Regions from separate parts of the Homo sapiens genome. Here regions 1 and 2 are each linked to region 3. The links are contacts of gene promoters, found by promoter capture Hi-C in blood cells and fetal thymus (Javierre and others, 2016). All regions are on one chromosome and are shown on one strand. Each heading gives the region's core, a stretch centred on a gene start or on the middle of the fragment in contact. The rest is flanking DNA. Distances are from core to core; before and after follow the strand shown. Region 1 holds the start of GRIN1 (glutamate ionotropic receptor NMDA type subunit 1). Region 2 overlaps MAN1B1 (mannosidase alpha class 1B member 1). Region 3 holds the start of TMEM141 (transmembrane protein 141).

Region 1 (2,737 bases), core at 180-2,679, 350 kb before region 3:
TGTGTGCAGATGAGCATATGAAATTGATTGTGTGATGCTGAGGTGCATGAGTGTGTGCTAATGTAACATTTGGTGTGAGTGTGAGCATGTGTGTCCACAGATGTGGTGTGTCCATCAGGTAGGCACGTGTGAGCGGTGCTAGGCTGGATGTCTGTCTTGCCTCTTACATAAAGGGCTGCATTGCAGATCCTTGCAGCCTCATTGGAATTCAGCAGGCGCTCGGCCCAGGGGCGGACAGCTCCGACAGGCAAAATCCCAGGAGCCACGTCCTCCCCCGCAGCGCTGGCTGCCGACAGCTCCCATGCCCTGATGCCTCTCGCGTGTGCACCCCCACTCCCACCCCCACAAAGCGTCCTGCCGTGGCACCTGAGCCATTTCTCTTCCCAGGCGGACCCATCGGTAGGGGGAAGGGACGAAAGAAAGGGCAGGAGAACCTGGAAGCAGAAACAAAGATGGCCCCAGGCCCCGTCCTGTTTAAAGCTCTGCAGGGCGGGCATGTAGCTGGACAGGCGCTTCTACTCTCTTACCCGGAATGCCCACCCCCACACTGACACACTCCAGCCCCACGTCTACACACACCAGTCAGGGCCTGGAGCCCCAGGGGCCCTCTGAGGACCAGCCAAGGTGGCAGGTGACTGGTCTCAGGCCAAGATAGGGGAGCCAGCAGACCCTGGTGTTTGGTTCCTAGTGAGACGAGGCCTCCCGGAAGCAGCCAGCTGACTCTGGGGTGGTGTCTTACAGGGAGGAAGGGGGCACGGAAAGGATGGAATGAAACTGGGGGTGTGGGGTTGCAGGATGGAGGAGAGGGGAGGTGGGTGGCGGAGGTGGGGGAGGGCACCTGGCTGGAGATGAGGTCCTCGCACACCGACAGAGCCATCTGGATGGCGTTGGGCTTGTGCGTGACGGAGGTGGCATTGAGCTGAATCTTCCAGGAGCCGTGCCGCTTGTTGGCCTGGTTCACGGCCTCGCGGAACATCTGCTCGTGCTTCCGCGTGCTCAGCACCGCGCCAATGTTGACGATCTTGGGGTCGCACGCGGCACGGGCGACGGAGCAGGAGAACAGCAGGGCGAGCGTCAGCAGGCGCATGGTGCTCATGGGCTCGGGCCGCGGGCCTGGCTCTGCGCGGCGCGAACGCGGGGCCCTCGGCGCATCCCCCGCGGGGCTTCCGGGCCGTCCTGCGCTCGCCCGGCCCCGCGGGCTGCGGACGCCACGTCTCCCCCGGAGCGGCGGTCCCGGGACGTCGGCCGAGGGAAGGGGCGCTGAAGCGTGCGCGGGGGCTCGGGGCTCAGCCCCACGCGGCCGGCGCTGTCCGCGGTGCTGAAGCGGGGCCGGGCACAGCTCCGAGCGCCCGGCTTGGAAAGGGCCCGGCGGCGGCGGCGGCGGCTCCGCGGACGGCGCTGGTTCCGGTCCGGACGCTGCGGCGACTGCAGCAGCTGCAGAAACGCGAGCGGGGCCAACGTCTCCTGCCCCTCCCGCCGCCCCCGCTTCCCAACACGGAGGCGAAGGGGGCGCCTCCCGCGCCAGAGCGTGCGCCTGCGTTCGCGTGAGCGTGTGTGTCGGAGCGCGCGTGAGCCGGGGAGCGCGCGTGTGCGTGTGAGCGCGTGCCTGGAGGGGTCCTGGGACAGGGGCCTGTGCTGTCGGGGACCTGCAGGGAGCTCAGTTTGGAAACGTTAGAGGGGTCCGTGTCACCGCGTGCAGCCCGCACCCTTGCGTGCCTTTTAATAGGACCGAACGCGTCGTGCCCGCTTGTATGTGTGTGTGCGCGCAAGAGTCGTCACCCACAGTCAGCGATATTTCGGCTCCTGACTCTTGCAGACTGGAGCTCCAGAGGGGTGGGGGAGGCCCTAAGCCATGGCTCTGGGGGGCGCTCCCTTCAAGGTTCCCCTCCCCACAAGGTTCAGAAATGAGGGAGAGGCCCCATCTGCGTGGCCATGTAACTTGGGACCCCCCTCCTCGGGCTAAGAGGAATAGGGAGGGTGACCGTGGCTGCCGCATGTGCTCAGCCAGGCCTTCCGCGAGAGCCTGGAAACTGGACCCGCACTGACTGGGGCTGAGGTCGGACACCAGGAATCACTGGAGCGCCGCGAGGTGTGTTCGGGGCCAGCCGTTTCACACCCTCAGCTTCCGCTCCTCTCTCCCTCTCCAGCCCCCTCGCAATGCGCTCCCAGCGCCCCCTTTTCCAGAGCCTTACCCATCCCTCTGGTCCACACCACCCTGTCTTTGTCCCCCTCCACCCCTGGAGTGTGCGTGCCCCTCCCTAACTTGAAGGATGGCTGAAGCTCCGCCCCTGCCAGTGATGTCACCATTTCCAATAGCAACTGAGGATTCTGCAGACCTAACAGCAAACGCCCCCAATGGGACAAAACAGGGTCGTCACCACACCTCTGCTATGTGCAGCAGTGCAGCAAGGGAAGTCATGTGCCCACAGGGGTCACACTCTCTCTCCCGCTTGCCGTTCTCTCCATCAGCCGAACACTGGCACCAGGGACCCCCTGGAGCTGAGAGGAGGGGGAGGGGCTGTGGTGTTTGACAAGCTCCTCCTCTTGGCCCCTTCTCTCTCAATACAGGAAAATCTTTCCTTGGGGGATCACCTGCCCGTACCCTGCTGCAGACCCCGCCTCTCCCCGTTCGGGTTGAGGCACACGGGTCATCCGCCTCGGGGCCCTCACTCCTTCTGTTGGCTCTCAGGAGGGTGTGTGTGGGTGCTCAGGGGGACTGAGCTGGCCCTATCTCCAG
Region 2 (2,815 bases), core at 1-2,500, 310 kb before region 3:
CAACGTTCAGGTCACCCAGAGGCCTCGTCTACACCCTTTCATGCAGTTCAGTGGAGACACTGAAGGCTCTCTGGGGTCAACACAGCAGCAAGGAAACGGGCATCACTCTGCACTGAGTGAATGTCTCTACAAGGCCAGTGGTGATCAAAGTGGCTTCATCAGCTCACGAATATGAGCTCAGAAACAGACTCCAGTGCATTTGAAGAGGAAACAGGAAGACAGTCACGTCCCCACAAGTCCACTAAAGGGGTAACTGCTTGAATGCGAGTCCACCATCTCCCTGCAGGACACCCCAAGACACTTACAGCTTTCCTCAGGAAGAGGCTGTCCCCAGACAGGTGGTAGGCACTCAGGAGCCCCCCCAGGATGCGGATCGTGCTCTCAAACAGGTTGACGTCCACGTCCTTTTCAAAGTGTAACTTCTTCGACACCCACTTCCTGGCTTCCTCAAATTCTATGACATAAAACAGTAAAGGATGCAGAGACAAATGGATGGCTCCAACGTTTTCCTATTATCTATCCATCTTCAAAATACATTTGGCTGGGCGTGGTGGCTCATGCCTGTAATCCCAGCACTTTGGGAGGCTGAGGCAAGTGGATTGCTTGAGCCCAGGAGTTAGAGACCAGCCTGGACAACATGGGAAAACCCCATCTCTACTAAAAACACAAAAATTAGCTGAGTATGGTGGCGCATGCCTGTGGTCCCAACTACTGGGGAGGGTGAGGCATGAGAATAGCTTGAACCCGGGAGGCGAAGGCTGCAGTGAACTGAGATCGTGCCACTGCACTCCAGCCTGGGCCACACCACTAGACTCTGTCTCCAAAAAACCCACGTTTGAAACCAGGAGGCCAAGGTTGCAATGAGCCGAGATTGCGCCATTGCACTCCAGCCCAGGAGACAGTGAAAGACTCCATCTCAAAAACAAAAAAACAAAAACAAAAAACCAAACCCATGTCTGGGGCGTTATCGTTCCCCTGCAGGGCTTCAATATCACCTCCTATCTCAAGGGGGTAAATCTTGAAGTCGTCAACATTTGTTAATAAAACGGAGTCAGCAGTGCAGTTGCTATGGCCACCAATGGGTCACAACCAAAGGCTACGACCCAAAAAAATTACACACGTCGTTTACTGGTGGTCTTCAACCTATTCAAAAAATTAGGCAAATGTTTAAATTATCGCTTAAATAACCGAAGACACATACTCCCAATTCAAAGTGGATGTGCTGGTCTATGAAGGATGCTGCTGAGATCTGGGACCAGCGGGGCCCCACAGTCACTCATCCCACCACCCCCAGCTGCAAGAGAAGCACAGCCTGGGAATGTCCCTTGGACGTCCCCCAAAGAGTCCACACTCAACTCCTGCAGAGGTCTGGGGACAGCGGCCCTGTGTGTGCCTTGGGTGGCTGGACAAGAACAGGAACTGACCACAGCCAACACGTCCACTCCCGCACCCAGGAGAAGGGAAAACCCATGGTCAGATGCAAACAGCAGCTTTCACCCCGTGTGCAACCCACACTCTGCCTCAGCACACGAGGCCCACACGGAGGGCTCAGCCCCTCCCCAGAAAGCACCAGGTACCTTTCCTCAGACCCAAGATCCACATGGTGTCCAGCGCGTCGATCAGTGTGAGACCGAGGCCAAACCACTCACTGAAGGACCTGGACACAGGCTTCAGCTCGTCATGGCCCCATGCAAACTTGCGGTATCCTTTCCATGCATGCAGGAAGACGTCAATCACGCCCTTCTGGCGATAGTTCAGATGCACTAGTAGGGGGGAGAGAGCACAGGCCATGGCGGACGTGGTCCTGGCGTCGGCACAGATGGACACCCTCAGGCAGAGCACTGCTGTGACCCCCATGGGGCAAAGATGACGGTGGGTTTGGGACGACGGGAAGGGCGGTGGTGGGCACAGCAAAGGCCAGGGCCACAGAGGCTGCAGCAGCCCCCAGGGAGAACACAGCCTGCCAAGGGCCTGAGACCTCTGGAGACTGCACAGGATGGCACCTGTCACCCGACCACCTGACTGGGGCCCATGCACCTCCACCTGGCGCCTGGGCAGGCACACCCTCCTTGGGCCTCGGTGGCCTCTGGCCAAAGGGACAAGGGTGGCTGCCCCAAGGGCGCTGGGACAGCACAGTGAGCACAGCCTGTGGAGACGTGGGTGAGTGTGGTGCCAACTCAGAATGTGAAACACGGACGGGTGCAGACCTCGCGATGAACATCCTCGACTCAAACACGCTCCTTCTGCCACGTGGGCTTCAGGTGCTCCACGGGAATCGCACTGTGCACACGCGCTACAGTCCCTTCGTTCCCTTTTTTTAAATTTTTTTGGCTGGGCACGGTGGCTCCCGCCTGTAATCCCAGTACTCTGGGAGGCCGAGGTGGGCAGATCACCTGAGGTCAGAAGTTTGAGACCAGCCTCGCCAACATCGCGAAACCCCGTCTCTACTAAAAATACAAAAATTAGCCAGGTGTGGTGGCGGGTGCCTATAATCCCAGCTACTAGGGAGGCTGAGGCAGGAGACTTGCTTGAACCCAGAAGGCAGACGTTGCAGTGAAGTGACAAAGCAAGACTCTGTCTCAAATATACACATATATATAAATTTCTTTTTTTTTTGTAGAGATGGGGCCTCACTGTGTTGTCCAGGCTGGTCTTGAACTCCTGGACTCAAGAGATCCTTCTACCTCAGCCTCCCAAAGTGCTGGGATTACAAGTGTGAGCCACCACGCCCGGCCAACATTGACTAATGTGTGGATTGACACGTGTGTAACGGCACCAAACCACACGTCCTCTCAGGAAAGGTTCTGAGGCCTCC
Region 3 (2,700 bases), core at 95-2,594:
ATGCGGGGCTTCTCAGTCCAGCCTCACTCCTCTCGGGTGCCCACGTGGCTGCTGTGGCCTTGCCACACCCTTCACTCTGCACCCTTCCTCTCAATCTCAGGGGCACCCCAGCCCCTCTTGGTTCTTTCTCCTCAAAGGGAGCTCTCCAAGATCTGTCTACTGCGCCCACCCCCAGCTCCAACCCATCTGGCAGTCACATGCTGAGGAGGCCGGGCCAGAGGGAGGGACCTTGTCTAGCCTATCGCATGGTGCACCCAGGCTTGGCTGCCCAAAACTCTGGGTGCTGGAGAGGTGGCATTCACTTCTCGCTAACCCCCAGGCTCTCTCACCTGTGCTCCTGTCTTTGGGGAGCTGCCCGGTCTCCAGGAAGAGCCAGAGGTTGTTGCATTTCTCCGACTCCACTCTCGTCACCCCGTAGCTGACCACAGAGCCTGCAACTGTGGAGCAGGAAATGGAAGAGGGCTGGGGCCTCTGTGCTTCCCAGGCTAAGAGAACCGGGCACAGGCTACTTCCTGACAGACGTGGTGGGTGGGCTCAGGTGGGGCTCCCGCCGAGACCTGGGGCTCCATGTCAGAGTCAGGGACGCAGAACCACAGCCCCAACCCTAGCAGAAACCCACCCCTCAAAGAGCCCAGGCAGGGGCCCTGGAGTACCCACCCACGGCCACTAGGAGGCTCCACTGCAAAGGGTATGGAAACTTCCTCTGAATGAACATCTGCAAGCCAAAGGCCATGCCGGTGCCTGCAAAGAGCCGAGGTCCCCATCAACCTGTACCCGGGGATAGCCAGGGCCCACCTTGCCAGGCCCCCAGCACCTGCGGGCAGGTGACTTGGCGCCCCCTGCTGGGGAGTCAGGGCAGGGCGGGAGGGTGCGTTCTCTCCCAGCCGCAGGACACCTGGACGCAGCCTACCTGTGACGAAGGTGAAAACGCCCTTCATGAAGGCGTGTGACTGGCATGCGGCATACTCCCCGAGTCCCTGGGGTGGCAGAGGCGGGTGAAGGCTCGATCCCCTGCCCTCTTCCTTCACCGCCTCTCCTGTCCCTCCTCTGGGCACACCCTGGCTGTGGAGGAGTGAGACCCTGGGCGCTTGGACACGTCCCACCTCCCCTATGCCCACCCGGACGCCCTGAGCCCCTTAGCAAGAGAGTGCCCCCAGCCTCCGCCACTCTTCCCTGACGAGGGCACCCCCACGCCCCGGCCCCCCGCCTCGCTCAGGTCAGCTTCTGGGGTTTGAGGCCCGCGTCCCAGACCGGCCTTCTCACCGGGTGCTTGGCAGCCACGGCGTCGTCCACCCGGGACAGACCCAAGTTCACCATGGTTGGCAGGGCTCGGGGAGCGGGCCTGCGCAGGCGCAGGCGGAAGGGCGGGACGGGAACCTGGGGGTGTGGCCCAGAGGACAGGCCTGCGCAGTTACGGACGGAGGGGCAGGGCCCGGATCTGGGGGCGAGGCCTAGGGACCGGCCCGCGCTGGAACAGGCGGAGGGGGCGGGGCCTAGGAGACGGCGCCTGAGGGCGGGTCCGCGCGGCAGCAGGCGGAGGGGGCGGGACCTGGGAGACGTGATCTGGGGGCGGGGCCTGAGAGACGGGACTTTGGAGACGCGACCTGGGGGCGGGGCCTGAGAGACAGGACCGGGGAGCGGGCCTGCGCAGGCGGAGGTGTCGGGTTCTAAGAGGCGGGTCCTGCCGGGTGCAGGCGGAGGGGCCAGGGCCTTGGATTGGGGGCGGAGCATGGATCGAGCCTGCTAGAGCGCAGGGGAGAGGGGTGGGGCCTGGGGCCTGGCCACGCCTCTAGGAGCTTGGGCCCTGTGACCTCCGGCGACGACTGGGCGGGGCGAAGGCGGGCACCGGGCGGGGCGTGGCTGAGAGCGTGCGCTCCTCCCCCCGGCCGGGCCTCATTCCCACACTTGCAGAGGCCTGATGATTGTCAGTGTTATTTTGCTTGAGGACTACAATCAGGGATTGAATTTCTCATAAGCCACCACGGAGTGGGGATGTATAAAATCACTGTTTAGCAAAGTGGTTCTGTAACCAGCAGCTTAGTAGCTGAGCCTCAAACTCCTTTTGTTTTGCATGACAAAGAGTCTTTACTTTCAAATAATTATCGATACACCAAGTAATAACATGTACAAGTTCTTGAATTCTATCATCTAGTAATTTTGATTAAGAGAAACTAAAATCAGCCCAAACAATTCCACTAGTATTCACTGGTGTAACCATTAGCAAGAACGGAGGACTTCAAGTCAGGCTGCTGCTTCACACAGGTTACAAATAACTATTTACTACTTTTTCATCGATAAAGTCCCTGATCTTCAAGAAAGTGCTAGGGAAAAAAATTAACCCCTTCCTTTCTTCAAAGAATTATTATGTGGTTTTTTTTTTTAAACTAGATCAAAGAAAGAAAAAGTCAACACTGATATACGTGTTGCTTGAGCCAAAAGGCATGGGAAAAAAGACAACATATAACCATTAAATTCCTAAGAAATATGAGGTAAAAAGATGAAATCTTGGCCAGGTGCGGTGGCTTACGCCTGTAATCCCAGCACCTTGGGAGGCCGAGGCAGGTGGATCACAAGGTCAGGAGTTAAATACTAGCCTGGCCAAGATGGTGAAACCCCGTCTCTACTAAAAATACAAAAATTAGCCGGGCGTGGTGGCAGGTGCCTATAATCCCAGGTACTGGGGAGGCTGAGGCAGGAGAA

The links. Contacts are between HindIII fragments. The CHiCAGO score rates a contact against its expected background, and 5 or more counts as called.
Region 1: the fragment with the promoter of GRIN1 here is called in contact with the fragment with the promoter of TMEM141 in region 3 in 1 of 17 cell types (erythroblasts); the score reaches 6.0 in erythroblasts.
Region 2: a fragment that was not itself captured here is called in contact with the fragment with the promoter of TMEM141 in region 3 in 5 of 17 cell types (naive CD8 T cells, total CD8 T cells, non-activated CD4 T cells and 2 more); the score reaches 10.3 in naive CD8 T cells.

The regions. Positions count from the first base shown.
Region 1 is chr9:137,137,846-137,140,582 of GRCh38, reverse strand. It overlaps GRIN1 (glutamate ionotropic receptor NMDA type subunit 1), which reads right to left and starts at 1,429. Exons shown (of 20, transcript NM_007327.4): 1 at 839-1,429. The coding sequence starts at 1,096. RefSeq lists a silencer at 1,592-1,886. The HindIII fragment of the contact is 14,343 bases long and covers 1-2,737 here.
Region 2 is chr9:137,098,644-137,101,458 of GRCh38, reverse strand. It overlaps MAN1B1 (mannosidase alpha class 1B member 1), which reads right to left. Exons shown (of 13, transcript NM_016219.5): 6 at 1,578-1,763; 7 at 306-454. Among named protein-coding and RNA genes, the nearest start is that of MAN1B1, 13 kb to the right of the region's middle. The HindIII fragment of the contact is 8,732 bases long and covers 1-2,815 here.
Region 3 is chr9:136,789,988-136,792,687 of GRCh38, reverse strand. TMEM141 (transmembrane protein 141) reads right to left here and starts at 1,344. Exons shown (of 5, transcript NM_032928.4): 1 at 1,264-1,344; 2 at 911-977; 3 at 658-741; 4 at 330-437. The coding sequence starts at 1,317. RefSeq lists a silencer at 918-1,957. The HindIII fragment of the contact is 4,968 bases long and covers 1-2,700 here.